6 separate regions of the Homo sapiens genome follow, and regions 1, 2, 4, 5 and 6 are each linked to region 3. Evidence: promoter capture Hi-C in 16 types of primary human blood cells and fetal thymus (Javierre and others, 2016). All regions are on one chromosome and are shown on one strand. Each heading gives the region's core, a stretch centred on a gene start or on the middle of the fragment in contact. The rest is flanking DNA. Distances are from core to core; before and after follow the strand shown.

Region 1 (4,815 bases), core at 127-2,626, 1.2 Mb before region 3:
ACTGTCGGCTCTTCCCCCGCACTCCCCCCTCCCGAATTCTTCCCGCGGCCGCTCCCAGCCTCCCGCCCTCCCACCGGCCGCTCCCACCCAGCCTTTCTAAAGATGGGGGTGGGTCGGAGCTCACTTTCTTTGGAAGGCAGTGGATTTTTCTCTTGCGTCTCTGTCTTCTTCAGTTTCGACTTATCGAATTTCTCGATCTCAGCCATATCGGGTTTGTCAGACATGGTTGCGGAGGAAAAGCTGCAGGGAGCAAGCCAAGAGCGAGCGTGAGGAAGAGCCACCCGCCCCGCTGTCTCTGGGCTGGGAACTGCACTTCTGCCCTCCGACCCGCAGCCTGAAAAAAACCCTTCTCGCTCTCCTACTGCTGCCGTTCCGCGCTCACGAGCTTCCTCTTTCTACAGAAAAAGAGGCGACACCCCCCGCGCCCCTCCTCCCCATATTTCAAAACGCTGTGGACCAAAGAGGGCGGATGCCTCTCAAAGCCGAATCTTGCAGAATAAAGGAAATTGACCACTGCGAATTGTTAATTACAGCGTTTAAAATTAAAGGCTGGCTAGGACAAGGAAAGAAGAGGAAAGCCACTTCCAAATTCAAGTGGGAAAAATCGGCAAGAATTCCTAAAATGGAGCCCAGGTAGGAAAAGCGTTTCCATTTCCTAGCCGCGGCCTCTCCGCAAGGATGCGGGCCGGATCCGGCTTTCTAGTCCTCTCACAAAGGCGGCGGCCGCGGCTGGAGCTTCCGACCACCGCCCTACCGGCTTCATCGCCCGCGTCACAATGCAGCCCCGCACACAAAGCGGCCGCCGCGCGCCCCGAAGCCGGTCTTGCCTGCTCTCCCGGCAATTCGGCATCCCTGGCACACATGTCTCTGCAAGAAGGACTGTAAAGATGTCATAGCACAGCCCCGCCGCCGCCAGGCTGCACAGATGCAGCCCGCGCAGCCGTCCGAGGCTGGGAGGAGGCTCGGGGCTCGGAAGATGAACCTCAGAACAAAGGACTTGTCTATTCCCCCATATCTCAGCCTCCAAGGCAACGCACAATACCTTTGCGGGCAAACACTAAGAAATTTTTTAATGTCCCCTCCGAGCGGCACGGCAAAACGCCAGTTTTTCGGTTTTGTTCTTAAATCATCGATTTCCCCACCCCATTATCCAGTATCTAGGGTGTTTCGCATCCCCCCAGCTCCCCAAAGTAGCCTTCCCGGGGAGAACCACTCGGGCTCGGATTTAGGGAATGCCTTCACAGGGACGCGGATGATGAAAGGGCGGGGACGGAGGCAGGACGGCAGGAGGAAGGAGGCAGGGGCCCTGGGGCTCACCGAAGCGAGGCGCACGAGTACGAGCGAAGTCTGGTCTGCGCAGTGGCCACCACCGAGTTGTCGGGCGGGGTGCGGCGGGCGCAGCTTTATGGGCGCTCCTATGTAAATGAGGTGATGTCACCCGCCGGCCCGCTTAACTCCTTCGCGCCGCGTCTCGGAACGGCATCCGGAGGCCTGCCGGGCTTTTGGGGAGGGGAGCCCCACCCCCACCCGGGGTCCACTAGTGCATGCACCCTAACCACAACGATGGCGAAAAAAATGAGCAAAGCACCCTCCAACACTTCATAACACATTTTCCCCTTTTACGTTTATTTCATTACGATGAATTTTTGCAACAGCAGCGCAGAAATTGCTCTTGGGGACCAGTGCATAATAACTAAGGGTCGGGGTGGCACCTGGGGTGACAGGCATTCTTTTATTTCGAAACTGCCTTTGTCTACTGTGGACATCTCCACACAAGGGCGCGGTGTCCCTCCCTGGAGGGCCTGGCCCGCTGCAGGGGTACGATTCCTGTGACTCAGCTTTCAGTCCAGTGGCGGGCATGCGCCCCACCCCGGGCCTCTTTGTCTTCCTCGCTGGCGTTCCTCTTGCCTTGGGTGGGACGTAAAGCACCCTTAAGTGATTTTAAAAGAGAAAGTTTCATCACTGAAACATCCATATTGTTTCATCAGCATAATTTTTGTGAGCACTCAACAGTAGTATTTGCTGGGTGTAAGGTAATTTGGAGTTTATAGGGTAAAACACCTCCCTCTTAGCAAAATAAGTCAAGCTCAAGCTCTGCCATTGACTTTACTGCCGGACAATGAGGAAGTTCTTTACCTTCCTCTTCCTTATTTTCATAAATTTTAAAAGTGATGGCTAAGGAGGCCAGCGTTGAATTCCAAAGACTACAGTTACATTATCTCTAATGTCTTAAGATGAAATTCAAAAATCAAATTATATTTTCAAGGGAGCGTTTCCAGCACTAGGACATCGCTGAAGTGCATCTGCATCTGGAAATATAAGAGATTCGGGTAGAGGGAAGCAGTTTTCAAAATGGCACCTGACTCTGTGAATACCAGTGACCCACTTGCTACTGAAAATTAGTTACAAATACCATGCCACGCGCCTGCAAATGGCGTGTGAAAGGAAAAAGACTCGCCGGTTATAAAGAGGCCTAGCTGTGATTATTTCTAAGAGACAAGGCAGTGTGCAAAATATTCCTTCTCCTTTTCCGTGGCCTGGGGAAATGTTTTTAGAAACCCCTTGCTAATCATTTTTATGGCACAGGCTTTTGTCTCGCTGGGGATTAGAGTCAACCTTATATATAGACCCTTGAATGCCACTGCCAGCAGCTTGGACTTCCCCGTTTCTCCATCTACTTGACTTCCTTTTTCCTGGGGAGGAAGGAGGTGGGGGTGAGCAGGGGCAGGTGACCGTCTGGTCCCCTAGTTAATGCTCTGCTGGGTGGCTGCCTTCCTGGCCTCCGAATGGGGCACTGGACCTGTTCGTGCATGCACCAAATGTCACCTGTCTGGTAACAGCCCCCCCGCCCCTGTTCCATGTTGGGAGTCTACTTCATCGTTGAAACACAGAAAAGATCTTGCAGGGTGCCTTTTCGCCCGTTTAGCTGGCAGCTGCCGTTGTACCGACACCGTTTCCGCAGGTTCTGTGATTCTGTTTCCCCTCACCCAGCTGCTGTCGAAAATCATTTCTTTCCTCCCAATGTCTCCTGATGACAAAGGAGTGCCACTACCTTCTCCTGGCTTCTTCTCCCAAGGGCCTTTCCTCAGAAAGGGTTAGGCCTCACTGAAGCAATTCTCCAAAGGAGATGGACGAATGCAAACTTGGAAATGTCTGGAGAAGTTTTCCAGTGCGGTAGCAAGCAGCCTTCCACTGTGCTGAGACACTGATGGAGGGCAGGTGGAAACAGAGAGGAAGAGAAAGAGAGACGACTGCTTAAAGGAAAAGAGTTCCCATGATTGGGACTGACCTGCCAACCGGTCAGGAGACCTAGAGAGACAGGAAAGGGAAGGGTGGTGCAGATACAAGGAAATGCAAACCAAAGGAATATTCTTAAAAGTTGCATGACTCTGGCCATGTGAATGAATCTTTCTGTGCTGGAGTTTTCTCATCTGTAAAATGGGTTCATTGCAACACCGACCTCACAGGGTTGTTGGGAGGAGTAAATGCTTCGGACAGTGCATGACAATTAGTAAGCTCTTTCTATTGTTATTATTCGTATGATTTAGGATGGAAGGTTGAGGAAAAATAATAAAATAATTGTCTTAGTGTTTAGAATTAATTAAAAATTTTAGGTGTCTTGATATTATTTCTCCTATAGAGACATTTATATATTATTATATATTATTTCTATATAATTAATACATATGAATATATATTATTATTTTCACTTACAAAATGTTGATAGAAGATCTTTTGGTAGTTTTACAGCAAATAAAACATGACAACTCCTGTCGGTTGATATTTTCTAAGAGTCAGGCATTGTAACGTAAGTTTTACATTTGTTTTTTCCTTTCTTTCCCACCGCCTTTCCATAAGAAATTTCCAGATGGGGAAACTGAGGCTTAGAGAGCCATCATTGGGTTACCTCAGCTGGTAGCCACTCTGTTATATATGCCAAGAGCATGTAAAAGTCCTCCCCACATCCTCTTAGTCTGTACCCGAGAATCACCAGGAAGAGTGTGAGGAGCTAGGCAGTTGTGCTTTCCACAGCGTCTGGTGGATAGTAATTGCTCAATAACAGTTCTCCCACTGCATTGAATTGATTTTCTTTTCTTTTCTTTTTTTGAGACAGTCTCGCTCTGTCACCCAGGCTGGAGTGCAGTGATGTGATCTCGGCTCACTGCAACCTCCACCTCCCGGATTCAAGCCATTCTCTGCCTCAGCCTTCCATGAATTGATTTTCTTAAATGAGGGAGGTACTTGAACTCAGGTGTTGAACCTGTGACTCTAATTGTCTTGCTTTCTTCTCCCCAGATAATTAAATCCATTTAGTCTTAATGTTCTAGATGTCAGAATGTTCCAGGATCATCCCTGCCCCAGGCAGCTACATTTATAAGTCTGTTAGTATGTGCCGGGCACAACTACCATTGAGGTAGCAGTTTTCGATCCCAATTAAAAAGACAGAGGCACACAGGGGCAAAGGAACTGCTTACAATGGGTGCAGACATTGTTCCCAGTGAGACCCCCCCCCAAAAAAAAAGGCCTTGGGTGACTCCGGGTTGTATGGTGCACTCTGGCCTTGGGGCTCTCTGGTGAAAGATAAGTAGAGTCCACTTTGCGCCTGTCCTGCCTTCCTCATCTCACGGGCCACAGCGCCCAATGAAAAATGTGCCAACATTGCCTGCGTTGAAGGGCGGTTCCCCTCCAACCCTGTGTCTGGTGGAACCCGGAAAAGGTGGCAGGGGACGCAGTTTTATTTTGCTTTCCAGGGCGGGCCTGGGATAGAGTCGTGGCTATTTCTAACCATGGAGAAGTTGGCTAGAAGTCTGAATT
Region 2 (4,205 bases), core at 1,706-4,205, 1.6 Mb after region 3:
AAAAAAAAAAAAAAAAAAAAAAGACAATTCAGGCAGGGCACAATGGCGCATGTGTGTAATCCTAGCACTTTGGGAGGCCAAAGCAGGAGGATCACTGGAGCTCAGGGGTTTAAGACCAGCCTGGGAAACATAGGGAGCTTGGTCTCTATTTTATATTTTTAATAAAAATAAATAAAATTAAAAGACAATTCATAGAAATGCCACACAGAAAGCAATAGTAATGGAACACAAAAGGGGGCTCTGGGAGGTGGATAATGTTCTGCTTCTGGTCCTGGGTGCTGGTTACACAGGTGTGTGTGTGTGTTTTATGAAACTCCATCAAGCTGTACACTTCTCTATATGAACGATATACTCTAATAAAAGTTTCTTTAAGTAAGTAATGATAGCATTATTCATAATAGCCAAAAGGTGGAAACAACACAAATGTCCATCAAAGGATGAGTGGATAAACAAAATGTGGGATCTCCATAGAATGGAATACTATTCAGCCATAAAAATGAAGTAGTGACACATGCTACAATGTGAATGAACCTTGAAAACATTGCACTAAACGAAAAAAGCCAGTCACCAAAGGCCACATATTATATGATATCATTTATATGAAGTGTCCAAAATAGGCGAATCTAGAGACAGATTAGTGGTTGCCGGGGCTGCAGGAGGGAAAAATGGGGAATGACTGTTAATGGAGATGGGATTTCCGTTTGGGGGATGAAAATGTTCTAAAGCTAAATACAGGTGTTAATTGCACAATATTGTGAATGTATGTAATGCCACTGAACTGTATACTTTAAAATGATCATTTATGTTTTATGGGTTTTACCTCATTTCAAAAAAAAAAAAAAAGCTATAATAACAAAATCCCAGGTTCCATAAAAGAAAGTTCTTTAGGAGGGGCTTTTAAAGTATTTTAACATAATGATTTTAACAAATGATTTTAACACAATGAAAGAGGAAACCAGCTGTCTCTTCTCTGGCTTTAGGAACAAGAGTAATGAAGGCATGTGCTGTTGGGTGTGGTGTGGTGGCTCATGCCTATGATCCCAGCACTTTGGGAGGCTGAGGCAGGAGGATCACTGGAGCCTGGGAGTTTGGGACCAGCCAGGGCAACACAGCAAGAGCCTCATCTGTACAAAAAATTTTTTTAAATCACCAAGTGTGGTGGTTCACGCCTATGATCCCAGCTACTTGGGAGGCTGAGATGGGAGGATCATTTGAGCCCAGGAGGTTGAGGCTGCAGTGAGCTGTGATCATGCCACTGTATTCCAGCCTGGGAACAAGACGAAAGGAAGGGAAGGGGGAAAGGGGAAAGGGGGAAGAGGAAAGGGAAAAGGGAAAAGGGAAGGGAAGGGGAGGGAAGAGAAGGGAAGGAAGGGAAGGAAGGGAGGGAGGGAGGGAGGGAGGGAGGAGGAAAAGAAAGCATGTGCTGTCATCCACAGCTCTGTTCTTCAAAGAGGATGTGTGCAAAGAGCCCCTGTCATGCCCAGCCCTACCCAGACGGGGGACACACTCACTCTGTGCTCCCGTCATACCAGCGTGGTGCTCATCACAATGTCAGAACTCCAGGTCTGCATCTCTTTCTCCCAGAGCTGTGTGCTCTGCAAGGGCAGCTTTCTGTTTGGGTTCTGTATCCCTCAGACTTAGCACGATGCCTAAGATACAGCTGATACTCAATGCATGTTTAATGAGCCAAACTGAGCCAAACCTGGGCTTTTTCCACCACCTGGCATCACCTGGCCAGCGGCAGGAAACCTGTGGTCACCACCACCTGTTCTGGGAATGTGTGAAGTGGGTTTGATGCCTAGCTCTGTCTCCCATAAGCTGTGGGTCTGATCAAGCCACTTAAGATCTCAGAGCCTTAGTTTCCTCAGTTGTAAAATGGGATTAAAATCTCTATTTCATAAGCTTATTGTTTATTAGAAGTTATTTCCTATTGATTAAAGGAATGTCAAGTGCCTGGCACATGAGAACATTCAAGAAAGGCCAGTTCCCCTTTTTTTCCCACCGCAATTTTATTTTAGAGAGTAGGGTGCTGTCCCCAGAAGGACATGGGTCCCCACCCCATCTTCCTTCCCTTTCACTTACCTTCATGCCAAAGGTAAATATGGTAACGACGATTTTGAAGATCAGTGCCAGGGCCAGCTGCCACATGGCCGTGTAAACACCGACACCAGCCGGCCGGTCTGGAATGTCATCCACAGGCCGAGTCATGTTGGGGTCATTGATGTAGTCACAGAGCTGGGAAGACTCAAGGGCTCCACAGTCATTGAACAGCTCAGAAATGAGCTCGCTGGTGCTCTGGCGTGTGTAGGGATTGGGGTAGGCAATGATGGCAGTGATGGCAGTCACCACAATGACCTCCAGCACCGGGTACTTCCCCAGCCTGGTGGTCTTGCGCCTCCTGCACCAGGCGATGTTGCAGCGGATGAAGAGGGTTCCCCACAAGCCCCCGAAGACCCCAAGCAGGATGAAGGGGAAGAGTTCAGCCATGTACCAGGGCGTGTGGTATTCCACATAAAAGAGAACGAGACGGCTATTCCCAAAGGGATTGATGGATCTCAGCGTAAAGGCCGCCACCAGGGCTGCGAAAAATGACCTCCACAAGGTCTTCAGGGGAAAGTAGTAACTGACCTGAGATGAAAAAGTGGAAAATTAAAGACTGGCCGGAGAAAGAGCTGCTCAGAGCCAAGCCCTCTGGTTGGCAGGAAAGTCACACTCTAAGTCCAAGAGTGGACACACTCATTCCATGAGCCTGGACTTAATGTGACCAAAACGCATCAGCAAAGATACCTGGAGGAATCTAACTATGTCTAGAAGTGGAATGGACACTAATCAAGGTGGGTTTGGGCTATATTTTTAAGAGAAAAGTATTTAATCATAATTCTGTTCATGGCACAGAGACTCCCCTAGAAGCAAATAAACCTCTGGATTGGATTCTACAGAAAACAGAGTAGATCAGGGTTTGGAAAACTCTGGGCTGCAAGTCACGTGCAGCCCAGTGAATGCATTTGTATGGCACATGAGTTAAGAATGGTTTTTACATTTTTAATTGATTGAAAAAGGTGAAAAAATCTTTTGATTTGAAATATTCAAAAGAAGAACAATATTTTGTGACATGTGAAAACCATAAAATTCAAATTTCAGTGCCCATAAGGAAACATCTATGGAAATGCAGACATGCCCATTTGTGTACGTATTGTTCACAGCTGCTTTCATGCTATGACAGCAGAGCTGAGCAGCTACAACAGAAATTGCATGGCCCACAAAACCAAAAACATTTACTACCTGGCCTTTTACAGAAACGTTTGCCAACCCCTGGAATAACCCGTTTGGGTTACCAAAATCAAAAATGCTTAATTAAGTTGGTTATGAGAGGGAGAATACTGTAAATCTTTTTAAAAAATCACCTTGGCAATTTTTGAAACAATACTTGAAAACAGGAATTTATCGCTGGTGGCCGGGTATTGTGGCTCACGCCTGTAATCCCAGTACTTTGGGAGGCCGAGGCAGGTGGATCACCTGAGGTCAGGAGTTCAAGACCAGCCTGACCAATATGGTGAAACCCCCATCTCTACTAAAAACACAAAAATGAGCCAGGCGTGGTGGCGTGCACCTATAGTCCCAGCTACTCAGGAGGCTGGGACAGGAGAATTGCTTCAACCCGGGAAGCGGAGGTTGTAGTGAGCCAAGATTGCGCCATTGCACTGCAGCCTGGGTGACAGAGTGAGACTCAGTCTCAAAAAAAACAAAAACAAAAACAAAAACAAAACAAAAAAAAAACAGTGGAAATTGTGGCTCCTTAATTAACTGCCGGAATCTTATCCAATACTTCTTTGATTCTAACCCTCAACGGGCCTTGCTGCTCAAAATCACGAATTCCCTCAGCTGCCCATTCTCACCTCTTCTAGACTGAAAAGCACGCCTCCAATTGGTGCACCAAAGGCAACAGAGACTCCAGCAGCCGCTGCAGCTGAAAGCACCTACAAAACAAATAGTTCTACATAAGCTTCAAGGCCTTCCATGAAAACAAACGTGCAAACCTGCAAGTCAGACAGCAGGAGGGGGCTTTGAGAAGAAAGTTTCGCTGCAGATGGAAGCTGAGCTGGCTCACCTCCCGCCTCTTGCCCTCATTCTTGCTGTACTTGGAGAAAAGGCTGCTGAAGAAGTTGCCACAGCAACAAGCCACGTGCACTAGCGGCCCTTCCTTC
Region 3 (4,257 bases), core at 1-2,500:
AGAGCTCTGGGAGTTGTAGTCTCCTGGGCTCCCCTATGTCCAGTGCCAGGATGGCTAGCTGGAGACTCTGGAATCCCTCCCTGTTGTGTCCCTAGAGGGAACAACTAAAACTAATGATGGGGCGTGCCCCCCCCCCTCCGCCCCGAGGAGGCTGGAGGGCGAGGAGAAAGAGGGATAGCAGACGCGGTTAAAAGACAGGAGCAGCAGGGGAGGGAACTGAAGGCAGAATATGCTCATCCCTTTAGGGATGTCCTTTAGCATCTCTAATGGACAGAGCTGTCCAGACATCGCCAAAGACACACCTGGGACTGCCCCTGTCCCTGCCGCCTAAGGCTTCGCCCAGGTGGCCCTAGGAACCCAGGTCTCTGAAATGAAAGCACCTGGGTGCTTTCCTTGGGGATCTGGGAGACCTGGTGCCAACTCCTGCCCGCCACCCAAATCTGAGGAGCTGCAAGATGTGGCTCAGCTCCCGGAGACTTAGGTGGACCGGCCCGGGGCGCGATTCCCATCAACTATGGTCAGACCCACGTAAATCCTTCAGAGTTTGAAAACGTAAATGCTGCAAGGCCCTGGGGTACGAAAACACTGGGCCAACCTTGCCCTCGGGATGGGGTTCACGGCCTACAGGCGGGATGGGGCCTAAACTGGACTAGGGTCCCAGGGACACAACGTCGCAAGTCAGCGGCCAGCGCCGTGTAACTATGAATTAGAACCTGGATCGGACGGCCAGGGCGTCCCACAGGAGCCCACCCGGCACCAGGCCGCACAGAAGGAGACATTTAACGCGAAGACAGAAACCGTATTCGAGAAGCCTCCTCCCTCAGCGGCCACCGTTGCAGTCGGGGGCGCAAACGGTAGCCCCGGTAACGCGACAAAGCATGGGCGAGGCTCCCAACCGCGCGTGCGCCGCCCGGCCTGACGGAAGGAAGTGGAAGCATCCCAGACCCCGCCCCGACTCCCGGGCGTAGCGCCCTGTGAGCGCCCCCTGCCGGCCGCACCGCTCCTCGCAGGCCGAGGAGCCCGGCCGGTCCCTCAGCTCCGCGCGGCCGTCCGCCCCCGCCCCCGCCCCCGGTCCCGGGTCCCCCAGCCCGCGCCTCCTCCCTGTCCCTCCGCGGCGGCACCTTGGCATCGTACAGCACTCGCGCCTTGGTGGGGTCAGGCTCGAAGCACAGCACTTTCTCCCCTGAGTGGAATTTAAATTTCATGCCCTCGCTCGCGCTCATTTGCTCATCGTGGCGGAGGGCGAGGCTCCGGGGCGGGCGGAGCGCGCGCGGTGGGGGAGGGCGGGCGGGGGCGGGGAGGCGGTGCGCCGTGGCCGGGGGGGGCCGGGAATGGCGGAGGCTGCGGCCGCCCCGCCCTCGGCCCCTCCTCCGCCCGCCCCGAGCCGCTGCCGGGACCTCGGAGGCGCCTGGCGCGCGCGCTCCCGCCCGGGCGCGTCCCCGCACGTCCCCGCCGGGGCTCCGGGAGGGGTGCGGGCGGGGAGCGCGACCCCCTGGCCAAGGTCTACCGGCAGGACGTCTCCCGTCGCCCCCATGGGAGAGGGTCCCCGCGGCCTCCAGGCTGCGCCCACGTGCGCGCAGGGTCGTCCGTCGCCCCGAGCGCCCGCTCTCCGGCCCGGGCGTGGGAGGCGCCTAGGGAGAGAGAGAGCCGGTCTGGAGTAGGCACCCGGCGGCCGGGAGGCTGGACGGCGTCTGCCCCCAAGAGCTCCCTGGCCGTGCGCGCCGCGTCAGCCCCCTTGGCAGAGCAGCGCGCCGATGAGTGTGGCCACGCTTGGAGAACGCAGCGCTGGAGCTGGCCCCAGGCGGGCAGTGGCCTCGGGCGAGGGCAGAAGGGCACTCCGGGCTGTGAATAGAACACTTGCTTATCCCTTCAGAGGACAAGCCGGTGGCAGGCCTGGAGCCCCCAGTGACGGGTTGAGCAGTGGGCAGCGAGGCAGATGGGTCCTTAAAGAGTAGCTGACGTCTTCAGTGTCAGCTTCTAGCGTGGCCTGACAGCCCCCAGCATCCCCGGAATGCCCCCCACGGTCTATCTGCTCCAATAGACTAAAAATTCCCTAAATAGAAGCACCCTTGAGGCCGCTATCAATATGGTACCTGCACAGAGTGGATGTTAAGTAAATACTTGATGAGCGAATGACAAGTGATGGGAGACTTGAAGGACAAACTTCCAGGGACAGGAAGGACAGTGCTGGGCTTTTTCTTTTGAGTTTTGGAAAGCCGTTGGGCAGTGTAATTACTGGATTAGGACCGGGCTGGAGACCAGCTTCCAGGCTAATCTCTGCGGACCTGGTGAACTTCCCCTTCTCTGTTCTAGCCTCCAGAAAGTTGCATTTGCTTCCCCTCTGCACGCTTCCTTCACCAGGTTCCTGGTATACATCCTTCACATTTCAGCGTGGGCATGCCAACAGAAAAGCCCTCAGGCTTCCCAAGATGAATCATAAAGCCCTGAGGTGTTCCCTCCCAGGACTCTGCTTAACCCCTTTCTTGCATGTACCACTGTGCTATAGAATGGGTTGTTCATTTGCAAAATGACCTCATTAAGACAGTAAGCTCTTTGAAGCTGGGGGTAGGGGTCTTATCCAATTCATCACGGCGTATTCGTGGCACATAATATGGAATGAATGAACAGATTGATTTAGGAAATAGAACCCACAAAACTCAGTGGCCAATTGGATGTGAAGGAGAGGGAAGGAGGAATCTTGAGAGACTTCCAGGTTTTCTGGCCCAAGGAATTGGGTGAGTAATAGCTGCATCCGCCAGAATAAGGCTATACAGAGGAGTTAAAGGTTGGGGGAAGATGGTCAAATGGCCTTTGGGGTAATACGGTGCAGAAACTAGAACTGGAACCATGATTCCTCTCCAGGTTGTGGTGTATCAGAGATGAGAACAGTAGATGGTGGTGTTCCCCACAAATGGCAGGGGCGGCTTGGAAGCACATGTAATTGCACGTCCTGTGTAAACCGTAACTGAAGTATTCACCTTTTTATTTTTCCTGCCCATGATTGGAGAGAGTTCTGCTGCAGGCTCTACCCTTTCAGGGATAGGATTTTAGATGCTTTCCTTTGTTTCTCCGCATTTCCACCCCTTCTTATGTCATTGAGGAATTCCTCTTTCCCCGTCCCTCTAAAAAGTCCAAGAATGCAAAAGCCTTCAGGAACCTAAAAGTTAAAAAGCCTGCCAATGGCAGCACCCCTTACAGTCCTCCTCCAGATTAGGATCCACTAGAGAGGGCTCCACCCTTAATGCAGGACATCATTTTTCCTCTCGGGTGTAAAGGTTAAGAACATGGCCAGCTCTGCAAACCACTCTCCAGGACCCAGTCCCATGCTTGTCACTTTCTAGCTTGTGACCATGGACAACTGGTTAGTCTCTTTGTAATGCACTTTGTTCATGTTTAAAATGAAGGAAATAGTGGCTCCTACTTCATAGGGTTTTTTAGGAGTCAATGAGTCAATTCAGTGTACATGGCTTTGTGTAGTGCCTGACATATAAGGGCTGGGTAAATATTTGCTCTTGACATTAGGCATTTCTTATCTGTTTCTCCGTGTCCCCCATTCATTCATTCATTCATTCAGCAAATATTTATTGGACCTCCTGTGTGCTGGTTGCTAGACACACAAAGTAGAATACATACATTACCCCTGTCCTCCCAGAGGGCACATTTCAGGAGGGCGGAGCAGCAAGCAATCAAGTTCAAGCTTTATGTGCATACCCTGATAAAGCTGGTGTGGAATAGAGGAGACAGAAGAGCTTACTTCTCTCTAGGAGGAGGGAGAGTATCTGAAAAAGCTCCAGAGAGGAAGGCACTCTTGAATTGCAACTTAGGTGTTTTCCTCATTTTCCAGTTTTTGAGGTTTGGACAGTAGTTTCGTCTGTATTCGGGCATGATTATAGAATGGTCTTGTTTTTGTCGGGATTAAGATAACCATTAAATCTTATAACAAATCTTTTTGATTTCTCATTATAGGTCACCTACAGGAATTGCTTCTCTTAGCAAGGTGAGTGCAGTGCGGGATCCAGTTAGTTGCGTCGCCCGCCGCCCCGCTGGCAGAGGCCCAATTTTGTTCAGGTGTTTGCCATCCCACATTGTTAGAGCAGACCTCTCACCAGGGCTGGAGTGACACTTGATCGGGCTAATACGGTAGGACTCACCTCTGGGTATACATTTGGAACAGCTGGGGAACTTTGAAAACTTGTTAAAATACTGTTGCCAGGAGTTGGAATTTTGTTTCCAAAGTTCCCAGGCGATTCCATTGTG
Region 4 (4,854 bases), core at 397-2,896, 1.1 Mb before region 3:
TTTCTTGTAAAGAGGGGAAAATAAGATTTTTTAATATTTCTCACTCATAAGATTTTTAAACTCTTAAAAATGCAATATCCTCTTTTCAAAGCACATGCCATCTTAAAAAAATCTTAGCAATGTACATTTGCACTCAAAGAAAAACATGGCAGCACCACTGTCTTCTGACAAAATTCTGCATAAAAAAACCCTATGCAACTTTTTGCAAATATGTTCCTTCTTTATTATTCAGGGACACCAAACCACAAACATTCAGTGCAATATTTATTGTTTTTTATTTCCGTAGGAAACACAGGACCAATGATGTCTTCTGACAACTGTTTCCTGATGATTTGTTGGGTTTATTGGATCTGAGGATCCTCGGATCCAATAAACCCAACAAATGAATTCCCAAACAATCTTAACAAAACTATAGAAGACCAAGAAAGCTTAAAAGAGACAAAGAATAAAGACAAGTCACCTAGTAAGGATGGCCAAGTCCTCAACTTCCCCAATGGAAGCCAGAAGTTATGGAGTCATATCTTCAATGTGATATGAGAAAATAACTCTCAGGCTAGGAGTCTATACTCAGCAAAACTGCCTTTCCAGAAGGAGAGCAAAATAAAGATAGTTTCAGCCAAACTATACAACCTGAGAATTTATTTCTAACATATAACCACTTAAAGAATGCAACTTAAGCAAAAGGAAAATCACCACAGATACATTGAGATGTGGTGAGGGGCAGGGGCAGAGAAAGGTAAGCAAAGATATTGATCAATATGTGGACAAATCTAAACAAATGTTGATTGTACAAAACCAAAATAATAATAATGTCTACTTTGTGGAGAAGGAAAAACTAAAGCATATAGTAGCTAAGCATGGTGGCTCACACCTATAATCCCAGCATTTTGGGAGGCCGAGGCAGGCAGATCACTTGAGCCCAGGAATTGGAGACCAGCCTGGGCAACATAGTAAAACCCCATCTCTACAAAAAATACAAAAATTAGCCAGGCATGGTGGCATGCGCCTTTAGTTCCAGCTACTTGGGAGGCTAAGGTGGCAGGATTACTTGAGCCTGGGAGATCGGGGGCTGCAGTGAGCTGTGATCGCGCCACTACACTCCAGCCTGGGCAACAGAGCAAGACTCTGTCTCAAAAACAAAAAAACCACATAGTAAGGTGGTGGTCATAAATCCAACTATGTCAATTATCATAAAAGAAAAGGGACCAAACTTTCCAGTTAAACACAGAGACTGTGAGATAAGAGAATAAGACATCAACGTCCTTGAAGCAAAGGGAATCATTACTATATTGAGGTCCATGTTTCTCCTACCCTTAGAACACTCATCCTACCCTTAAAACACTCATTCTTCAGGATGCAACCAAAACCACAGTAGCCCTAGCAGATACCCTTTGTTTGTAAACTTGTCTAGCTGTCAACAGTTTCCTTACTTAAAGATTTAATTAAAAAAATTAATTTAAAGGCCAACAAAAATTTTGCTCCATCATCACCTTAAAACACCTACAGTTCAGCCAGGCACGGTGGCTCACAGCTGTAATCCCAGCACTTTGGGAGGCCGAGGTGGGTGGATCACCTGAGGTTAGGAGTTCAAGATGAGCCTGGCCAACATGGTGAAACTCCATCTCTACAAAAATACAAAAAGTAGCCGGGCATGATGGTGGCTGCCTGTAACCCCAGCTACTTGGGAGGCTGAGGCGGGAGAATCGCTTGATCCCGGGAGGTGGAGGTTGCAGTGAGCCAAGATCACGCCATTGCACTCCAGCCTGGGCGACTGAGCGAGACTCCATCTCAAAAAACAAACAAACAAAAAAACACGTACAGTTCTATTATCTACATGCCAATGTCATAAAAGCCACTCAAACTCCAGGTAAGGAAAGCTACTTTCTGGGAACATGAGACAGGTTTTCCCAAGACACATGAACACCTCGCACAAAATGTCCACATACATTACCGTCTGCTTATTTGGTAACGACTAGGCAGATTTGGGCATGACAGGATACCAATCCACAGCCCAGCACTGGGAAGCACTGCCCTTTGTGGTGGAAGTTCTATACCGGAGAAGTTAAAGCAGAACCTGTTTTCATCTCTCTGCCAGGTGGCGCCTGTTCTCACGAGCCTGCTCACAAGCAGACAGCAGGGTAGGCATGGAAGTGGGACTGGGAAAGAAGGTGAGCTCTGTGGTTCTTGGCAGTGGGGGACACAGACATCTCACTTGAGTGGGGAGCCCTAGCCACTAAAAGGTATCCAATGGTAATGTCAGAAGAAGAAGATAAGAGAAAATACCCCTGCAAACAGCTTCCTGGGTTGTTAGAACGCTATGATTTCCTGAAAAAGCTATAGGTAACTCTTCTTTTCCTTGTATATCATGGAGACCTAATACATACTCCTAACAAATGATGTTGACACAACATACCACACTGAAATCTTAGGCAGAAAAAGGCAGAACGAAAATTATATACATACAGTTTTGGATTTCTTCTGGGCACATATTTACAATCTTTTCTCTGTGGGTGCATGTGCCATATCAGCTCCCCCAGGAGAGACAGATACATAGTACACCAAATTATTCATAGTGGCATCACTGGTTGAGATATAAAGTGTTAAGATTTTCTTCTTTCTACTTTCCAAATTTCCTATAGAGCATCTTCAAAGATTATGTAATCAGAAAAAAAGTTAAATCTGAGTTATCTAGTTTTACCCTCTTCCCATACCACTTTTAGGTTGACACTTGCTATCTCAGCAGTGGTAGGTAGGTTTCTTAGGTTTAATTTTCTTTCCGTGGTCAACCCAACCAAGCTACAAAGCCTACCCAAGAGTGACCTCCTGTGGCAACATTCAGTTTTACCCGGAACGAGTCAAGCTTCAAAGCTTTTTCTAAAGCAACAAGCTCCAATTGGTCAGACAGAAATTTACAGTATTTTATTTTGCTAACTATGACCTTTTGCATCAAGCAAAGAAGTCACAGATAATGTCAACTGCATATGTCATGTATTACCCGCAAGGCTGTTCTGAGGAGACTGTCAGTTGGGGGCTAGAATATGAGGATGACAATAATGTGTAGCAGAAACACTTGGAAAAGAGAAAGGAGGTGACAAAAATTCTGAAATGTACTTCCCTAAAAAGCTTGATTTTCCTGGCAGAGGGAGCAGGGGTGATTGAGTGCAGACTGCTTGAAAGGAGGTCTCAACAAAACAAAACAGCATCTCAACCCCAGCCATTTATTCTGTTTACTTTATTCTGCATTTTTTTAAAAGTAGGAGTTGGCAAATAGCTATCTATTTGAAATGGGGAACTCTGTATATGATGAAAGATGCCATTTCAAATCAATAGAGGTGGATTATTTAATAAATAGTTTTGGAAAAACTAGACAGTAGAGTCGGGGGTGGGGGGGCTGGATTCTTATTTCATTCTTTATTCCAAAATAAATTTCAGATGGAAGTAAACTTGGGACATTAAAAAAGAAAAAAATATACAGAATCATGGGAGAAGACAAATTTTAAGAGAAGGATGACTCCTACATAAACTCAGAAGCCATAATGTGAAGAAAAAATAAACCTGACTACGTAAGAAGGTTTTTAAAGTCCTGCAGAGAATAAAAATACAAAATAGGAGAAGAAATGAAAAAACTTGGAGAAATATTTGCAACACACATGAGAAACAGCTGTGATCTCGTCTATGCAAAACTGTAGACAATCCACAAGAAACGTCCCAGCCAAGAGAACAATAGGCAAAAGATTTGAATAGAGACCCATCTCATGGAAAATCAACATACCCTGGTGAGGGCACTACCCTCACCCACAGCAACCAGAGCTCACAGGAAGAGGATGCCATAGATCACCTACCTGATCTGGAAGTAAACTGCCTGATAACCCACTGTGTGAGCAAGGCTGTGTAGAAAGTCACTGGCATCCATACATGATGGAATGTCAACTGGTATATTTTTTGGAAAAGACCATATTTTGGCACTGCCCATCAAACCTAAAATGGCTCATGCCTTTTGACTCGGCAATTCCACTTCTAGGAACGTATCCTACTAGCACACGTGTACAAAATGTCAAAGCAACGATATTGCTTCACAACTGCATTTAAGAGTGCAAACAACGGCACCTACAAATGGGGAAGAGGGGGCCTGACTGGTCACAGGAGCTGTGGTACATGCACACAAGGGAATATTGCACAGCTGCACAACACGACTATGGAATCATTGTTAAGATACAGCAAGTGAGTTTTTCAGAAAAGCACAGTGAAGAACTGTGTACATCGCATTGCCATTTGCGTGAAATAAATAGGCAGATATACGCTTAAATAACACAATTCTGACACTGGAAATAACGGTGGCATTTAAAGAACAGGGATGGGACACTTTTGTACTGTCTGAATTTCTGCTAAGAGCATGTATGATATTCTTAGACTATGTATATAAAAACAAGGTTGGGGGAGGAAAGAAAGATGGTCATACAAATTTGTGGAATCTACTATTCTTTGGGCTGAGTAGCTGCCAAAATAACATTTTCTGGTTTACAAAGGTATCTGCCAGACACAAAGGCCATGTTCTATACTACCAATTGATATACAAAGTCTCCAAAAGATAACCCCATAAAGATAGAAAGTAGATTCCTGGCTGCCAGGGATAAGGTGGGGGGAAGTAAATGGGGAGTGACTGCTAATGGGTACAGGGTTTCTTTTTGGGGTGATAAAAATGCTCTGGAATTAGATAGTGATGGTTGCACAAATCTCTGAATATGCAAAACACTGCTGAACTGTACACTTTAAATGGGTAAACTGTACGTATTTGGAGTTTTTTGGTATTTTCTTTTTCTTTTTTGAGACGGACTCTCGCCCTGTCACCCACGC
Region 5 (4,843 bases), core at 945-3,444, 1.1 Mb before region 3:
TAGAAGCAGCATTTTCCTATTCGTTGTTACATGGAACACTAAAATTGCAGAGCCATAGATTCACTGCCAAAGTCTGAAATTTGGAGGGTGAAGAAATGTTAGAATATGGATACACCCATGAAAAATAACACATGAAGACTTTAGTGCAATTTATGTCGGCCTGCTAAACCTGCCCTGGTACACATTACATGAGTCTTTCATAGTATTTGAGTCTCAGAATATTCTAAGATTCCCGTTTTACAAATGAAGACATCGCTCAGCAATATTAACTGATTAGCCCAAGGTTACCCAGTAGTAAGTGGCATTTGATTAGAAAACATACATTCCTGCCATTCTGGCACTGACATTCCATAATCTGGCTCTTGTCTTGGATTGTTTTTGCAAAGAATCTTGCAAATTATCCCCTCCAAGGAGATTTTAGGATGAGCATTTTCCCTACACATTGGGTTTACATTACATAAATTTGGAGAGGAGATAGTAGTAGAGTCAGGGCACTGCCTAGGTGATACATAATCAGAGGAACCGTATAACTGATCCATTAGTATACTTACAAGAATGAAGTGGGGCTGGTAATAATTACACCAAGACTATAGGCATAAACCAAGAGTCTGTCAGGCAAACTGGGACATATGGGAAACTACCCATAAAGATGATTGTTGTGCATCTAGGTTTAGCATGACAGACACTGGGACCCTAGGGAGAAAGGCCCTAAAAGGGAATATGGGAAGTGCAGAAGAGCTTTAAAAATCACCTTATTACCTTCCACTGGCTCTGCCTTACAGAATGCTTTAACCGTGGACTGGCTCTCAAGTTTCAGGATTTCTAGCAATGTCTACTCCAGAACACTGGTTTTAGTTTAGTACTTACGCATGGAGTGGTCCAGCCTGTGTCTCTACCATAGGGATCTAGCTCAGTTAATGCTTTTATCTTCCCAAGTGACTGAATCAACCAATCATGTTGTTATCTAAGAAACCAAATGCCTACTTCCACCAGATGTGGTGGCTCATGCCTCTAATACCAACGCTTTGGGAGGACAAGGCAGGCGGATCGCTTGAGGCCAGAGTTCAAGACTAGCCTGGGCAACATAGCGTGAGACCCCTCTCTCTACAGAAAATAAAAAATTAGCTGGGCATGGTGGCACACAACTGTAGTTCAGCTACTCGGGAGGTTGAGTTGGGAGGACCTCTTAAGCCCAAGAGTTTGAGGTTGCAGTGAGCCGTGATCACACCACTGCACCCCAGCCAGGGTGACAGAGCAAGACCCTGTCTCAAAAGAAAAACAAAAAAATCCTACTTCCCTTAATTCCTCTAATTGGAGGTAAATAAGCAATTTTTTTTCTCCAATGCAAGATGGCTCAGAAGGGATTTTTCAGGTCTAAAGTTTGTTGGAGTTAGAGGTACAAAATTGTCTCTTCTTCTTGTCACCCCCCTATCTTTTCCTCCCTATCGTTAAAAACATTGAGAGTCCAGCTGACCTCCTTCATTGTTCTTAACATCCTCCTTGCTTTGAGGTTTTAGCTGACATAATATCAGCTGAGATCCCTCTATCCTTGGTCCACTCCAAAGCCTCCTCTCTCACTTTCCCAGTCTACCCTATCTATCAAGCTTCCCAAACCTTAATCAGTCAGTTTCTTGCTGTGAACTCCTTGAAATTGTTTCCCAGGCTCAAGCGATCGTCCCACCTCAGCCTCCCAAAGTGCTGAAATTACAGTCATGAGCCACTGCACCCAACCTTCTTATTTTATTTTATTTTTTACAGTATGAGCTGAAGCTTTTTATCATGGCATCCAAAGTCTTCCATAATTTGTACCCTGTCTACTTGTCCGGCTTACCTGATTGAATTCCTCTACTAGCCTCACTAGTCGATAAACCCAAGTTCCCTGACTTGCAAGTCCCTCCGTTAGAAGTCCTCTTCCCTACCATTTTCACCCACCAGATTTCTACTTATCCTTTAAGGCTATGTTTCTCAAAAGGAGCACTCAGATACCTCAGAATATATGGCAATATGCCAGTGGGTACAGGAAGCCCTTAAATAAATATGGTACATCTTTCTAGAGCACCAGTCTTTCTCAGAGATTTAGGAAAAATGTTCACTACTCAGGGAGGAGGAGTTGAGTCAAGATAGAGGGATGGCTATGGTCCCTGATAATAGGATTTTATAGTCCCTGATAATAGGATTTGTACGGTTATAGGATCCCAGGCCCTGGACCCAACCCCTGGCTATGCTTTTGTCCAAAGACATAATGGGTTCATAGATCCCACTATCAGGAGGCAATTGGTAATGCTGCCCAGAGTGATATTGTAAAGCAGAGAGTGGAGTTGTACTTCAGAGGGGGCCAAGGTGGGTAAATGACAATCATGAACCAGGTCCCTCTTCCCATCCCATTCCCATGTACCTAAATGAGAGCCTGGGAAGAAGTGGGAGGATCGCTGAATTGAGTTAAAAACATGAAGTGATTGACACAGCAGTCCTCATACTGCGTTTCCGAGGATGTGCCTAGTTTAAGTGTTTTCGTGATCAGGGAAAATGGAGGCTGTGAAATGAAGGAAGTTTAGTTGTGGAAAAATCAAGTCACCTTCACCAGTGGTGTGATGGTAAATGTTTAACAAGAAGCTTTGCCTGATTTGTTGTCTTGATTTGTAGCATTTGTCAATTTCTATAGTGTAAATATTCCCTCCATGGCCAATTTCAAGTGGGGTCCAGCACGCCACTGGCCTTAACACACCTGAGACAATGACTGTGAAATTTTTAGCCTCTACACAGTGACATATTATAAATTAGAATGCAAATTAATCAGAAAACCTCCCCCGCCCCCCACTTATTTCTAAACTTTTTTCTCGCACCTGTCCACTTTTCTCTTTGACTATTACCACCTCCCAACTCCAATTAGTCATTAGGTCTCATCTGGACCACTATGCTAGACTCCAAATTGCTCTCCCTGCTCCCCCTTCTCCTCTATAATTCATTCATCCAACAGCATCAGAGCGTTCTTTATAAACCTGAATCAGATCAACTATAATGTCTTCCTATTACACTTTAAATGAAATCCAAAGTCTCTACCATTGCTTATATCAAGGGTGTTCTGACTTCAGCCTACCTCTCTGACCTTGAGCCATCTTTCCCCTCCTTTACCACATATCAGCCATCTGGTCTGTTTTCTGTTCTGCATTCAAGCCAGCCTTGTAACCACCACAGTCTTGGCACTTGCTGTTTCCTATTCCTGAAATCATCTTTCTCCTCCTCTTCCCACAGCCCGGTCATTACCACCCCTTAGTTGCCTATTCAAGTGACACATCCTCAGAGAGGCTTTCCCTGACCAACTTATCTAAATATCTTCTCATGTAAGAATAGTGATAATAATAGTAATAGTAGTTAACTTACGTAGCACTTACCACATGCCAGGCATCATTTTAAGTGTTTTCCATATATTCATTCATTTAATCCTCACAATAATGGATACTACAGGTCTTCAATCCCTTATCCGAAACCTTTGGTGCTACATGTGTTTTGGAATTCGGAATTTTTCAAATTTTAGAAGGTAATACGCTACATGTACCCTAAATTATGTAATAACTATTGAGGCCTGGGGCAGCATTCCATAATCAAACACACAAAATTTCTGCAGTGACATATAGGATTGTCCACTCTAAGTGGAATTATTAAAAAAAAAAGAATAAATAACTCAGTTATTTATTATTTATTAAAAAGAATAAATAACTCATTTATTATTTATTAAAAAGAATAAATAACTCAGTTATTTATTATTTATTAAAAAGAATAAATAACTCAGTTTATTATTTATTAAAAAGAATAACTCATTTATTAAAAAGAATAAATGACTCATTTATTTATTAAAAAGAATAAATAACTCATTTATTTATTAAAAAGAATAAATAACTTCAGTTCAGGTCAAGATCTACCTCCAAATGCATTCAGATCATATTATGTTTGCAATCAACTGAGTTAGGACAAAGCTTTCAGTTTTGGGTTTTGGAATTATAGACTATTATTATTATTATTATTATTATTATTATTATTTGAGACTGAGTTTCGCTCTTATTGCCCAGGCTGGAGTGCAATGGCATAATCTCGGTTCACTGCAACCTCCACCTCCCGGGTTCAAGCGATTCTCCTGCTTCAGCCTCCCAAGTAGCTGGGATTACAGGTATGCACCACCAGGCCTGGCTAATTTTTGTATTTTTAGTAGAGACGGGGTTTCACCATGTTGGTTAGGCTGGTCTGGAATGCCTGACCCCAAGTGAACCACCCACCTCGGCCTCCCAAAGTGCTGGGATTACAGGCATGAGCCACCATGCCTAGCCTAGACCTCTATTATTATCTCCATTTTACAGATGAGTCAACTGAGGCACAGAGAGGTATATGCACTCTGTAACTGACTACCCTGTTTGATTTCGGTCATAGCCCTTACCACGGTCAGAAATTATCTTGATGATTTATGTTGCTTATTCGTATGATGTCTATTCTGTACAAGAATGTAAGCTGCAAGAGGGTAGGGCCTCTTGTGGTCTCATGTAAAACAATGCCTGGCACTTAATTAGGACCTCGTTATGTCTGTGAGATACATGAATGAAAGAATGAATGCCTGCATATATGAATCGTGAAGTAAAGAAAAATGAGAAAAATTTCTCCTTTGAGTAGGTTCCTTCAGTCTATACCCCCAGACTAAGCAGAGGTCAGATTTCTGTCTCTTCTATCTGCCCAGGGATTCCTTGGGGGAAAAGGTTTAAGAAGCTCTGTTTTCATAATGTCTCATTCAAAAACACTTTCTTCAAAAAACCTTCTGGGATCAAACCAGACAGAAGTAATCACTCCCTCCTCTCAT
Region 6 (4,759 bases), core at 1,365-3,864, 1.0 Mb before region 3:
TAAATGTGTTCCCTAAAGTTCATGTGTTGAAAGCTTAATCCCCAGTATAGGAGTATTGACAGGTGAGACCTTTAAGAGGTGATTAGGTCATAAGGGCTCTGTCCTCACAAACGGATTAACGTCATCATTGCTAGAGTGTGCTCATTATCTTGAGAATGGGTTTATTATATTAGCAAATTTGGCCCTCTATTGCTCTCTCTCAAATATGCTCTCTTGCCCTTCCACCCTTCTGCCATGGGATGATGCAGCAAGAAAGCCCTTGCCAGATGCCAGCCCCTCAGTATTGGACTTCCCAGCCTCCAGACCTGTGAGAAACAAATTTCTATTGTTTATAAATTAGCCAGTCTCTGGTATTCTGTTATAGCAGCACAAAATGAACTACAGCAGAAATCAAGTACAGTATTATATAGCTGAGAGGTTGACAAAACACAGCACATAGGCTGTTTTTCTATGGCCTGTGAGTTAAGAATGGCGTGGTAGGCAGAATAATGGCCCCCTAAAGATGTCTACATCCTAATCCTTTGAATATGTGAGTTTATATGGCAAAGGGGAAGTAAATTTGCAGATAGCATTCAGGTTGCTCATCAGCTGACCTTAACATGGGGAAATTATCCTGGATTATTTAAATTGGCCCATTGTAATCATGGGGCCCTTAAAAATGCAAGAGGGAGACAGCAGAAGCAGGGTCAGAGCAACATTTTGTTGCTGACATTGAAGGTGAAGAGGCCAATAGTGAAGGAATGTGGGCTGCCTCTGGAAACCGGAAAAGGCACGGGAACAGATTCTCCCCTAGAGCCTCAGAAGAGAATACAGCCCTGCTAACCTGTGACAGACATTACCGTAACTTACAGAACTGTAAGATACCGCAGCAACAGAGACTACATGTGCTAGCACTGCCTAAAATATTTACGATTTGGCCCTTTGCAGAAAAACTTTGCCAACTCCTGGTCTTATGACGTTTATCCCACAAGATTAGATTCTTTGGCCTGTTTTTACTCAGGAACCTCAGTTCTCATATGACTAGCAGTCCAGGGGAGGACAGAGAATATCATCACCATGGCAACTTTTCCCCTAAAGCTAGTCCTGCTTCTACTCAAAAAGATGATCATGACTACCTTTATTCTAGGTCTTTAAAAAATTGTGGCTAGAAGGCAGCATCCATTTGCCATTCTGCCAGAGGATCTTTATTGACCCCCAAATAAAAACGCTGAAGAGCGTCACTGACTCAACAATAAACGGGCATGGTAACTAAAAGATAGCCACAGACTCTTAACACATTTCCCATCAAGGAGCAGGGTCTAGTCTCCCGCCCTTGAATCTGAGAGGGCTCTGTACTTGCCCAACAGCATATGACAGAAATTATGATACACCAACTTGCAAGCCCAGTCCTTAATGGACTGGTGGCTTCAATGTCCTGTCTTTTGGAACATGTGCTCTTAGAACCCAGCTTCCATGCTGTAAGGAAGCTCAAGCAGCCCCATGGAGAGGCCTACAAGAAGAGGAGCTGAGGTTCCTAACCAAGCTCCCAGGCAAAAGCTAGTAACAACTTCAGTCATGTGAGCCATCTTCAAGAACCCTCCAGCCCCAGTTAGCCGCCTCAGCTGTGACCAGCCTCAGCTGTGACCATACGCGGCAAAAACAAGCTTTCTTCACTGAGCCCTTCCCAAATTGCAGATTTGTAAGCCAAATCAACAATTACTGTTTTAAGCCATTAAGCTCTTTATTTATTACATGGTAACCGATAACCTTGTATAACTTTGCATAACCTTGTCTCACAGTATAGCTAAAGATTCTGCCAGCAGGTTAACTGACCATAGTAAAATGTTACAACAGAGACATCTAGACACCTGCTGTCCTAAGATGTCATCATGGAATTTCCATGGTCTATAGTGAAGCTGGAGCGGACCTCTCCCTGCATATCTGAAATGATTTAGGGATAAGAAGGTAAAATTGGAAGGCTCTATGTTCAGTAAAGTAGCATATAAAAAACGCAAAATGGGAGGATTGATGGCCAGGAGACAGCAAACCAGATTTCTGATCCTAGTTCAGTGACAGATTCAAGAAGGGGCCCTTACATGAACTGAATCAATTTTGTCTTCATTTTGCCCTTCAGTTTTTCCTCTCTACGATTACACAGCTAAAAGCTGGATTCCTAGCACAGTAACTGGTCCAGAGAGGGCTGTTTATAAAAATTAAGCTCTGTACTTGTACAGTTCATGGAAAAGAGAAAAGTCAGGCAGTGAACCTTTTATACTCTATACATTAAAAACATAAAATGTAGCTATATAGGCAATTCCCAAACTTCATGCTGAGTGGTTTTTGAGGTCCCACGATTTCTAATTATCAAGTGATGGTTATAAAATGCCAAAAACAAAATAAAAGTGAGTCTGCTTTATATTTGAACCAAATGTATAAACAATCATACTTCAGTGTCTGAGTGAGTTTTGCCCAGTGGCACATGTGGTATTTTTAGGAGAAACTCAACACTGACTTAGCAGTGAACTGATCTAGATTAACCATGCTCCTTAGCAAAAGATCATGCTGCACTGAGTACCTGGAAGGGCAACATATTTGCTTTCAAAATTTACTTCATCAACAAATTTCTCCTTTACTTATATGACGACACCTTCTGAACAAAAACTATTCTTCTTCTCGTGTTCTTACAGCGACTGAAACTTGAACAAGACTGGCAAAATACTGCAACACTCAAACCTAGCTCTATCCTTCTCCAGAGCCCTAGACCATCCTCTCAGACTTCTGCATTAAACACTGCAGAGTGGAATTCTTTAGCCAAAGTCCACCTGCCACTCATTCACAATGTTTCTTCGCTTATATTATCATCGGAGCCATAACTGGAATTTGCCACCTGGAAGAAGTCACGTAAGATTCACATATCCTAAAAAGCTGACTTGCCAAAATATAGCATCTTCCCCATCAGTATTAACATAACTCCTCCTTAAGAAATTTTTGCCTAACCCCAAGTCAAGATTTTCTGCTAGAAATTTTATAGTTCTAGATTTTACAATTAGGTCTATGATCCACTTCAAAGTTAATTTTTACAAATGGTGAAAAGTATGGATGGAAGTTCATATTTTTTGGCATATGGGTGTCCAACTGTTCCAACACCATTTCTAGAAAATGTTGGTAAAATTGAACCTTTGCCAAAGATATAAAAATTATCAGTAACTGTGGACAGTTAACGGTACTAGACATTGGAGGAAGAAGGGGGAAAAATGAGACCAATTTGAAATGAGTCAAGGAGCTGTGTGGACTCAGGCAGATAGACAAAGGAGCCCCCCAGGTCAGCTTCCGAGGATGGCCACCACCTGAGGCTCTCCTGGACTTGAGAAATGGGTGAAAGTTACAGTCGAATCACGGCGTTGTTGCTGGACACAGCAGAGTCCTAGAACAAGAAGGAAGCTGAAAGTCCATCATCTTTAAAGCAGCAAGAGTAGTGGGAGCAGAGGGGAGCCCAGCACGTGCGTCCTGGGGTTCTCACAGTCTTTCAAACCTTGGCACAACTGCACCCTCTGGATAACGCAGTGGTCTGCGCCCTGGCTGCTCAGGAGAAGCCAGGGAAGCTTGTAAAATCGCTGATCCTCCGCCCGTTGGATCAAACCCTTGGGGGCAGGTCGGGGGAAGCAGCGTTCGGACCGTCCCCAGGTAAACCCAGCGTGCAACCAGAGTTGGGGACGGGGGGAAACCTTTAGTCGCACGCACTGGTCTGAGGTTCAGCTTTGTAGGGACGCGGAAACTGGGACCAGCCAACCCAGGACGTCTCTCCACCGCGCGCTGACCCGATGCGGTTCCCGCCCGCTGCGCCCACTCTCTCCCCGACGGTCTGTGACCGCCCAGACGTCTCCCTTCCGGGCTGGGGACGCCAGGCCGGGCGGCACCGCTGGGAGGCCGGGAGCGGCTCGGGACCGCCGGGTCGCCGCGGTCCCAGGACCGGAGGCCCTGCAACCGGGGGCACAGCCGAGGCGCGCATCGGGACGCGCGGCGCCCCGCCTCGGTTTCTTCGCAGGCGCGGGCGCGGGGGCGCGGAGGCCGCGTTGCCACCGTCCCGCCCCGGAAGGGGGAGCGCGGCGTCCGCGGAGGTGGCCCGGGCAGGCGCCGGCCCCCAACCCGGCCCCGCAGCCGCGTGCCCAGCGCTCTCCCTAGCCCGGCCGCCGGCGCGGCCCCCACCTGGTCTCCTGGTTGCTGAACTTCTTCGTGACCACCTTGCCCAGCTCCAGGCCCAGGCGGTCGGCCACGCGCTGGGACAGGTCCTGATGCGAGCTGCCGCTGAACAGCACGATGTTGGGCATGGTGGGGCGCGGAACTCCGAGGGGCGCGCGGCGGCGGAGGAGGTGGCGGAGGCAACAGCGACAGCGACGCGGGAGGCTGCTGCTGCGGGAGCGGGAAAGCGCGGCGGCTAGATGTAGGGAAGGGGAGGAGCGGAGGGGGAGGAGCCGGAGGAGGAGCTAGAGGGGGCAGAGAGGGAGGAAGAGCGGGCGTGGAGGGGGAGCTGGAAAGTGCCGGGGGGCGGGGGCACAGCCCTGGCAGCAGTTTTGGACGCCCTGGGTGGTCCTGAAGCCCGAAGGTGTCCTTGCTCCGCGAGAGAGCTCCGAGCTTCATTCTTGATCTTCCAGACCTGCCTCGCGGGGAGAGCCAATGAACCGCGGTTAGCTGGGCACAGAGGGAGAGTTCGGGCCGGGGGGATCCCTCGAGGTGCTTCGCAGCCCGGAGCGACTTCCCACCCCGGAACACCGCAAACCCA

What was found. Contacts are between HindIII fragments. The CHiCAGO score rates a contact against its expected background, and 5 or more counts as called.
Region 1: a contact is called between the fragment with the promoter of TMSB4X here and the fragment with the promoter of MSL3 in region 3, in 1 of 17 cell types (non-activated CD4 T cells). The highest score is 6.7, in non-activated CD4 T cells.
Region 2: a contact is called between a fragment that was not itself captured here and the fragment with the promoter of MSL3 in region 3, in 1 of 17 cell types (neutrophils). The highest score is 11.3, in neutrophils.
Region 4: a fragment that was not itself captured here is called in contact with the fragment with the promoter of MSL3 in region 3 in 1 of 17 cell types (naive CD4 T cells); the score reaches 5.2 in naive CD4 T cells.
Region 5: a contact is called between a fragment that was not itself captured here and the fragment with the promoter of MSL3 in region 3, in 1 of 17 cell types (neutrophils). The highest score is 6.5, in neutrophils.
Region 6: a contact is called between a fragment that was not itself captured here and the fragment with the promoter of MSL3 in region 3, in 5 of 17 cell types (non-activated CD4 T cells, naive CD8 T cells, activated CD4 T cells and 2 more). The highest score is 12.1, in non-activated CD4 T cells.

Annotation. Positions count from the first base shown.
Region 1 is chrX:12,971,671-12,976,485 of GRCh38, reverse strand. It overlaps TMSB4X (thymosin beta 4 X-linked), which reads right to left and starts at 1,376. Exons shown (of 3, transcript NM_021109.4): 1 at 1,318-1,376; 2 at 125-240. The coding sequence starts at 224. RefSeq lists enhancers at 1-657, 1,497-2,336, 2,460-2,579, 2,600-2,859, 2,870-2,939. The HindIII fragment of the contact is 8,223 bases long and covers 1-4,815 here.
Region 2 is chrX:10,206,468-10,210,672 of GRCh38, reverse strand. CLCN4 (chloride voltage-gated channel 4) reads right to left here. Exons shown (of 13, transcript NM_001830.4): 7 at 4,109-4,205; 8 at 3,897-3,977; 9 at 2,083-2,628. Among named protein-coding and RNA genes, the nearest start is that of CLCN4, 52 kb to the right of the region's middle. The HindIII fragment of the contact is 2,101 bases long and covers 1,905-4,005 here.
Region 3 is chrX:11,755,230-11,759,486 of GRCh38, reverse strand. MSL3 (MSL complex subunit 3) reads right to left here and starts at 1,250. Exons shown (of 13, transcript NM_078629.4): 1 at 1,122-1,250. The coding sequence starts at 1,223. It overlaps MSL3-DT (MSL3 divergent transcript), which reads left to right and starts at 1,404. Exons shown (of 2, transcript XR_007068393.1): 1 at 1,404-2,735; 2 at 3,967-4,257. RefSeq lists an enhancer at 803-1,097 and silencers at 951-1,330, 1,341-1,490, 1,511-1,710. The HindIII fragment of the contact is 7,532 bases long and covers 1-3,699 here.
Region 4 is chrX:12,812,598-12,817,451 of GRCh38, reverse strand. All of the region lies in intron 4 of PRPS2 (phosphoribosyl pyrophosphate synthetase 2), which reads right to left. Among named protein-coding and RNA genes, the nearest start is that of PRPS2, 24 kb to the right of the region's middle. The HindIII fragment of the contact is 2,432 bases long and covers 431-2,862 here.
Region 5 is chrX:12,880,424-12,885,266 of GRCh38, reverse strand. All of the region lies in intron 2 of TLR7 (toll like receptor 7), which reads right to left. Among named protein-coding and RNA genes, the nearest start is that of TLR7, 16 kb to the right of the region's middle. The HindIII fragment of the contact is 843 bases long and covers 1,773-2,615 here.
Region 6 is chrX:12,791,046-12,795,804 of GRCh38, reverse strand. It overlaps PRPS2 (phosphoribosyl pyrophosphate synthetase 2), which reads right to left and starts at 4,393. Exons shown (of 7, transcript NM_002765.5): 1 at 4,186-4,393. The coding sequence starts at 4,307. RefSeq lists a silencer at 3,688-4,137. The HindIII fragment of the contact is 1,938 bases long and covers 1,646-3,583 here.